Linked DNA regions of Homo sapiens: regions 1 and 2 are each linked to region 3. The links are contacts of gene promoters, found by promoter capture Hi-C in human tissues and cell types (Jung and others, 2019). All regions are on one chromosome and are shown on one strand. Each heading gives the region's core, a stretch centred on a gene start or on the middle of the fragment in contact. The rest is flanking DNA. Distances are from core to core; before and after follow the strand shown. Region 1 has its middle 8.7 kb from the start of PLCXD2. Region 2 overlaps PLCXD2 (phosphatidylinositol specific phospholipase C X domain containing 2). Region 3 holds the start of C3orf52 (chromosome 3 open reading frame 52).

What was found. The method cuts DNA at HindIII sites, captures the fragments that hold promoters and counts their contacts. A contact is called where the count stands out against the background at its distance.
Region 1: a contact is called between a fragment that was not itself captured here and the fragment with the promoter of C3orf52 in region 3, in 1 of the 25 tissues and cell types used here (spleen).
Region 2: a contact is called between a fragment that was not itself captured here and the fragment with the promoter of C3orf52 in region 3, in 1 of the 25 tissues and cell types used here (mesendoderm cells).

The regions. Positions count from the first base shown.
Region 1 is chr3:111,664,632-111,667,331 of GRCh38, forward strand. It overlaps a transcript of CD96 not described here. Among named protein-coding and RNA genes, the nearest start is that of PLCXD2, 8.7 kb to the right of the region's middle. The HindIII fragment of the contact is 3,023 bases long and covers 1-2,700 here.
Region 2 is chr3:111,724,200-111,726,899 of GRCh38, forward strand. It overlaps PLCXD2 (phosphatidylinositol specific phospholipase C X domain containing 2), which reads left to right. Exons shown (of 4, transcript NM_001413064.1): 4 at 1-2,700. Among named protein-coding and RNA genes, the nearest start is that of PLCXD2-AS1, 48 kb to the left of the region's middle. The HindIII fragment of the contact is 4,577 bases long and covers 1-2,700 here.
Region 3 is chr3:112,084,975-112,087,674 of GRCh38, forward strand. C3orf52 (chromosome 3 open reading frame 52) reads left to right here and starts at 1,415. Exons shown (of 6, transcript NM_024616.3): 1 at 1,415-1,571. The coding sequence starts at 1,434. RefSeq lists an enhancer at 1,077-1,593 and silencers at 1,110-1,159, 1,210-1,259, 1,280-1,329. The HindIII fragment of the contact is 9,818 bases long and covers 1-2,700 here.

The DNA of each region.
Region 1 (2,700 bases), core at 99-2,598, 420 kb before region 3:
ACATGTACCCCTGTATCTAAAATAAAAGTTGAAATTTTAAACAAAAAAAAGGTATATTAAAAAGGGAGAGAGGACTATATTTTTCAAAAATGTCAATATAAAGAAAGGCTCTGAAAATATTCTAGATTAAAGGAGGCTAAAGAGACATGACAATTGATTGCAATACCTAACTCTAGATTGAATCCTGTACTAGAAGGGGGGAAATGGTATGAAAGACATTTATTAGATCAACTGACAAAATTAGAATATGGACAGATGACTAGATAAAAGTATTTATAACTCCGATGTTGTTATGTAAGAGATATTTTTATTCTTAGGAAATACACAGTTATTATTTAGCAGTCAAAGGACTATGATATAAATAACTTAGCCTCAAAGGGTGTGTGTTCATGTGTGCATGCATATGTATATGCATACACTTATACATACATACATGCATGTATAGATATACATGTATATGCATACAGAGAGAGATGGAAGCAAATGACAAAGTAAAGGGGGTAAATTGTTAAAGACAGATGAATCTAGGTAGATGGAATAAGTGTGTGTGTGTGTGTGTGTGTATGTGTGTGTGTGTGTCTTTTAATATTTTTACTTTTGCAACTTTTTTTGAAGTTTGAAATTATTTCCAAGTAGAAAGTTTAAACAAAAAGTACTTGAGCAAGACCCTAATGAAAGATTCTTAATTTGACTCAAAACTACCCTATTTTTCCAAGACTGCAACCTTTTTACAGTATGACAAAATCCAAAATGCTGTTTCATTGGCGTGGGGGGCAGGATTCTTTCTCTTTTCTCTGAGCATTGTTTAATCTGAAAGTTCAGAAAGAAAATAAGCAAGGATTCATCCCATAAGTTCGCTGTTTTTATATCATTTCTGGGTCTTATTCTACCCTAGGTATTGGCTGGGATCCACCAAAACTTCAATCAATTTTCCTTTCTTAAGGAGATAATTGGAGCCCTTTGATTTTCCCAAAACTCCAGAGCAAACTTACCCTCTCACCGTTGAACCATTTCATATCAAAGAAAACTAAGCTGTGTTTCTCCAGACTCCACCCAAGAAAGAGACTTTCATTCCTCCCTCAAACCCTTGGGCAGTGTTTTTTGTTGCTACTTTAGTAGAAACTACGGAAACAATTCACAGTTTACAGCAGTCCCTGCAGCAAGATCCCACACATGTGGCAGAACTGGGCAGACTCCTGCTCATCATTCCTACTTGGGGCTCCCCACACAGGAGCGGGGGCAGGAAGAAGGCTCAGCAATCACTTCTACAGAACCTCCTCCTACAGGACTTTTACCCATCACCCCAAATTTTGGGTACACAGCTTGACCAATATTTATCTGTTCAATAAATACTATTTGAAGATACTCTCTGTCCTATCTACTGAGATGAAATTTTTCAGTTTGCTATTGTTGCTTTAATGTTTATGTCAAAACGTGCAATGTCACTCCAAGATGAGGGAATGCGGGCTGTGAACTCTGTTGGACCCAAATGTCCTCAAAGGTGGAAAGCTGCCTTCACTCCTCAACGCCCCCACTGTGAGGATGAGGCCAGACACAAAGTAGTATTCAATTCAGTATCATGTGAATGAATGACAGGAAATGGCAAATGAGTGAGTAGGAGAAAGAAAAATGCCTTGTGGAGCAGAGAATTTGCTAAAGGTGGTGATTGTCACTCAAGTATGGTGAGTTGAGCTTTTCTTTTGACTCACTTCACATCACAGACTAATATATCCACTTTAAATCAATGCTCTTCTTCTAATGATTTTTATTGTGGCATGTCAGTCAGGCCAGGAGAGGTCAGGACCTAAATCTGGGCAGCTTGGCAGATGCCTTAGGCTGAATAGGCCACTGAGTCAGTTTCAAAGTTTAGCCCAGATTGGTAGAATCAGGCAGGCATCATAGGTGCAGAGGAAAAAAAAAAAAAAAACAGATCCAAGGAATCAGTGAAGACTCAAGTAAGTAGACACAGAACACCAGTCTAGACAGGTGAGGAAACTTAGTCTAAAACTCTTGGAGCAAGAACATACCTCAGCAGGCTAAAGATTCATAGGAGTTTGAGACCTGAGTCAGAGGCCTCTTGTCTTCTACTTCCGCTGTGTAAATTTATCAGGCTTTAATATTGTACATTCGGTACCAGAAGGGCAGGATGAGCCCTACAAGTGAAACTTTCTCCTGGTCAACTCAAGAGGAGGGAGTTAAGCTTAGGTGGGAAGCTTTCAGTTCTCTACTCTCTTTAAGAAGACAGTCTAATGGCTCATAATCTTGATTCTTCACCAGCGTTTGCTCCAGGTTGCCTAAGGTTTGGGCAAATAGACACGATTTCAAGCTTTGGTTTCAAATCCACTCATAGTCTTCTACTTTACTAAAGTTGGCTGGGCCATGAGTGAACAGAGCTTTCTTGTGCCTAATTGACTTCTTGGTGCCTTTCTTCCAGACCTAGGACTTTCACATTAGGGGTCACAAGTACCCAAGAATAAAGGCGTGTGCCAGAAGGGACTCGAAGCCACAGGGCAAACATAGCACATCCAGAACATCAATTTTGTGTGTGTGTGTGCATGTGTGTGTGTGTGTGTGTGTGTGTAACAAAATGTGAATGAATTTACAAAAACAAACTATGCAGCTTGAAAGAAATGCCAGGATCAGTGCTTGTCATGCCTGCCATACAGGGCTCTGGGGAGTGTGCATTTACTCAGCTCCATG
Region 2 (2,700 bases), core at 107-2,606, 360 kb before region 3:
AATTAGTGGCAGACCTCCAAGAGAGTCATGCCAAAAAAGTTTTTATATTTGCTGTATTAAACTCAATGGTAATTACTTTTAGTCATTTTCCTTAGCACTGAATCTAAACCCTGAATTACCGAGAGCAGTTAAGCCACAGTCCCAGGATTTTATTATAAACTCAAAGAAAAGCACAAAATCTGAGCCCAGGTAATGATCCATCTTAGGAATCCTAGTTCTTTTTACATGATCTCATATTCATCCAAAAAAATTGTTTCTTCTCAATAAGACAACGTAGTAGAGTATTCTGGAATTAAATGCAGTTTTATGGCGTGGCGGGACTTTCCATCTCTCGTTTTGAGAATCTTGCCATGAGAAAGTGCTTCCCAATGAGACATTACTACCTCCCAGCTAGGAGGCTTAGCACAATGCTAAAGGTGGAGCAACAGAAGAAATTCAGATGGAAATGAAACTACTTCTTCCTGGGAAGTAAAAGAGCTACATGAAACCAGTCCATCCTGCAGATTTAGTTCATGCCACAGTTGAAGTTTGTGTGATGTTTCTTAGTAGCTAATTTCAAATTTTTACTGTTAGATTCTAAGAAACAGAGTGGGCTAATGATTGGAGCACAGCCATGAGACTCCGCTCCGTTAGCTGAGCATGTGATCCTGTGCTAAATCTTTCTTGGTTCCTTCATCTTTGAAGATGCTGTCTGCTACTTTAGTGCTGACTGATTTGCAAATCTTGGTTGATTAGCTCCCCAATCATAAGGTCCCTAATGATTAGATTAAATGCCTTATACTCAGGGGGTGTGCAGATATGCTATTCTTCCTTCTGTGGCTTGGGTGGAAAAGCTGCTTGGGCTTATTTCCCAACAGTGTGATGTAGGATGGCAGAACTTATCTAGGAATGGCACCTTTGATGATCCATATAATGAAATGTGTAGAGCTCAAAGAAATCTGCCAACATGTATGTGGACTCTTGAGAGGTGGGCTTTCCCAGTACATGCTAAACAGACTTGTTATGCCAAGAGGAAGTGAATAGAAATGATAGCATCAAATATCCAAACTGACAGGAAGTTTCTTTTGCATAGCATAGAACATGGTTGTCTTCTGAGTTCCACTAATGTTCCAGGATATCTTGGCCCTCTGCCTCTGGCTGCTCCCTGGTGTTTGGCACCATAGCGTTGTCACTTACAACCATTGCCTTGGGACACACAGAGTGAACTGTTTGAGTGATAAGTAATTTAGGTAGAAACTTTACCCTTAATTTCAAATGATACCAAACAGCTCATTACTACCCCAAGGGACGCTCTCCGTAGCTTCTGGATTCCCCAGTTTCCTTCTAGAAACAAGGACTCCAATAGCACTATAACCCTAAACAGGCCCTAACCCAGAAGAATACACCACAAAATGCGATTGATTTTCTCAAAATATCACAGTCTTAGACACTATACAAATAATTCAAGAAAATTCTTTCTACCCTGCAGTGGATATAGTATTCTATTATATTCTCCAGCAAAACTTTTAGGACTTTTCAAACTCATTTCTAAGCCAAATAGTTTAGATAAATATTTACCCTTATATTTGGGGGGAATTCAGGCTCACCATTTGCCGAGGCAAGCCCATCAACAGTCTAGAGGCATATTCTGTGTCATTCCTTCCCGTCTCCTTCATAGAATACTACTTTTTCCTTTTGTCTCCTGGCCATTCTCCATCATCTGCTGATTATTGCTAACCACAGGATGCTGGCAAAGCTTACAGTGATAGGCACGTGTGTTCAGTGATGTCCAATACACTCTTATCACAGTGGTTATTGCTTCTTACTCTTTTCAAATGCATTATTCTACCCCTCAACCTACATCCAATCATTAGAACTATACTGGAGCCCAGAACTTGGGACCAATACTTAATTCAAATAGCAGGGGCTTGCTCACAAACATTAAGCCCAACAAGAAGCACAGCACTTTGAAAAGTCAAATAGGCCTTTGGTAGCTCTGTACATTTGCAGTTTTACATTTGTTATTAGTTTATAGCACTAATAACACTTCAGTCGTGAATCTACAGTCTCAATATGATAAGTCTTAGAACATGTTCTAGAAATAGTGGTACCTTGCTGCTATTATACTTAGTAACTTATACCCCAATATAATAATAAGTATTAAATACAGATTGTGTATGCATTCTTTGTGTGTATATGCCAACTGTACTACTTAACCTCACTGATGAGCAATTAGAAAAATACAGAAATTGTCATAGTGAAAATAAGTCTTGGTCAATTCAGATGATACGTGAACCTGATAAATGCTCTAATAGATATGCTATTTTGTCCTGTATTGCTTGTTTTACAGTATGGTGCATGTTGTTTGCTAAGTAAAATGATAATAATAATAAAGTATACCAATTTTAAGGTTAGAATTAAAATTTTGCACATATGCTTCTTGATATTCTGAAATGTATTCTGTGGCTTAATTATCTTATTCATACACATTTCACTTGGCTTTTTACCCCTAGGAAATAATTGTCCAAGTATATATCTCGTCTTCTTTCTTGTAACTTTGATTAAACTGCTTACTTCAACTTACAACATTGTAAAGCCAGAATACCTCATTTTAACAGTGAAAAAAAATATGATGACCTGATGTGTTCTCTTGTATTTGATTTGAACTACCTAAATAGGCTTAACTGTAATAATAAATATACAATTTTGGCAGGCATTTTT
Region 3 (2,700 bases), core at 165-2,664:
AGGAGTGTTAACAGCTTCTCGCTATTGCTAGTCCCTGGGTACGTCACCATGCCTTGTTGATTCCCTTAACCCTTGCTCCTTGGTTAAAAAACCTGTTCAAAAATCCCAGCTGAGAATGCAGCCTGATTCTTGCAAGATCCACCTGTTGGAGCAGAAGTCAGTGCAGGTCAGCAGATGAGTCACTGCAGACTCCCCTTAGCAGGCAGATGGATCCAAAGTTCAGGGGATCTGGTAGCAGGCATCAGACTGCTGGAGACAGGATATCTAGGCTGTGTCTCAACATCAGGTACTGAAGATGCCAGACTTTTGGACTCAAGTCAACATATTTGGAGTGGAGCTGATTTATATGCTTCTTGTTAATGGTCTGGTCTTAATGTGTGTGTGTGTGTGTGTGTGTGTGTGTGTGTTGCGTGGAGGGTGAGAAGTAAGGAGCAAGACTATTCGGAACAGAAGCTTGAGAGTTGAGGCCCTTGGCCCAACCCATGCTGTGCTTAACAAACATAATTCCATGCTAACTAAACCGGAAGTTCTGAACTACAGATAGGGTGTCAAGGAGATTGTGTGTGCGCGTGCATTGTGTGTGTGTGTGTGTGTGTGTGTGTGTAAGGCCCCTCCTCTCAAAGATAAATAATAATGGTCATTTATGAGTGCTTGCTGTGTCAATCACTGTTCTGAGTGCTTTGCTTACAACAACCCTTGTAATCCTGGTAACAACTACATTTAGGAGGGTACAAATATTACACCAACTTTCCAGATGAGGACGTTGGCACAGAGAGATGAAGACCGAGGTCTCACAGTGAGGAACCCTCTGGGTGGAGAATAACCCAGGTACACTGGTTTTAGAGTCCGCTGTCCCCAGCACCACACAATACTGTCTCTGTGCCTGACTCTGGACTTGCGAGGAAGTGTGTTGGTGTATATTATTCACCTTCATGCACTCAGAACCTAGCACCATGCTGGCACGAGGCATGGTTATTTGTTGATTGAATGAATGCACTTTTGCTAGGCCGCGAGGACTGTGGCAAACCCCAACAACCAACAGTTCGTAGGGTTAGATCGCAAACTTTTCTCCGTTGGACGGTGCTGCCGGGCCCACCCTTTCCTTACCACAGCCCGGCACCCAGGCAGCCCCTAAACGGAGATGGTCTGCATCTGCAGGCGCGGGGAAAGGCATAGCAGGCAGCGCCCTGAACAAATCAGAAAAACAGCCTTCGGCTCTGGAGCCCACTCCGGCACGGCCTCAGGTGCTCTACCCCGCGGGATCCAGGGAGTGGCCGCCACTCACAGTTGCCCCTCCTGTCCGCTCCGGTCCGCTCCCGCCGCCCGAGGTCCGCGACGCCCCGCCCAGTGGGTGGAGTGTGAGGCGGGGAGGTCGCTCGACTCGCCGGCGCTGTGGCCTCCCGCGGAGCCGCTCAGACTTTCCCTGCCGGCACATGGACCTGGCCCAACCCTCACAGCCAGTAGACGAGCTGGAGCTCTCGGTGCTCGAGCGGCAGCCAGAAGAGAACACGCCTCTCAATGGTGCCGACAAGGTCTTCCCTTCTTTGGACGAGGAGGTCCCCCCGGCCGAGGTAAGGTCCCCTTGGCGCTGGCCCTAACTTGCCGGCGGCGGGACAGTAGTAGGACCCGGGCCTGGCACCCGCGAGTTTCGGGTTTCCAGTCAGGCGGGGCGTCGACGGCGCCGAGCGAGGGTGGGGCGCGCTCGAGTGCTCTGAATGGAGCCGAGTCACCGCGACACCTTTCGGCCCGAGCAGTCCCCTCCCCAGCCCCTGGGGTCCTCCAACCCCTCTGACCCCCGAGGCGCTTTAGGAATCCTAGTGGTGAGGTGTGGCCGCTGCTGTCTTCAGAGAGGTATTCCGGAGATGGAAGTAGTTTTTTAAAGTTATGTAACTTTTAATTCAGTTTTTCTTTTTTCCAGTAGGGAGAATGAGAATGACAAATTGAGTATCCTCCTTCTCTCAGAATCTCTTCTGTCCTCCTCTTACCTTCACTGCCTTGCCACTTCTCTCCCTCCCCTCCACCCACCTCGCCGCAGCCCCCAGCCTTCTTCCATGCCTACCATCCGCCAAGCACTTTCTGCCTTCTCCCAGCCTGGCCATTGGATTCTGCCGGAAGAGAGATAGGGGAGAGCACAGAGGAGAGAAAGCGGTCAGAAGGGGAGAAGGGGTAGGGCTGGCGTAGAGATGGGGCGGGCGGGTTAGGGGGTCGGCGCGGGGGAGGTGAACTTGCCCTGCTCAATTGAAAGAAAATAATTTCAAAGTTCTTGTCTCGAAGGTTGAGACTTCGCCCACCTTGCTTTTACCTCCTCTCAATCCCTAAGGAAGTCCCTGGCTATTTTTAGGCCAAGCTCTTTTCTGATTCATCCCTAGCAATGATGGGAACATTATTCACTCTCATCAAAGACTTGTAAAACATCAGAGCTTTGACTTCCCAGCCATCCACCTTCTGATTAACTCCTAAGATTGGCTTGAGGTTTTCTGGGTGCACAGAACTCCCCATATAGAGCCCCGACCTGATCTTTCTAGGCCCCACTCCTCCACCCCCAACTTTTTGGCTGCCCAGCTGTTGATTTTAGGGATAAGCAGGAAATTCAAAAGTTGAAAGCATTGCTTTTGTTCTACATTGATTCCTGGAACTATTGCAAAGTCTGCTTTTATAGGTACTCTGGAGAGTAATTTGGAAACTTATTTCTGAATAAAA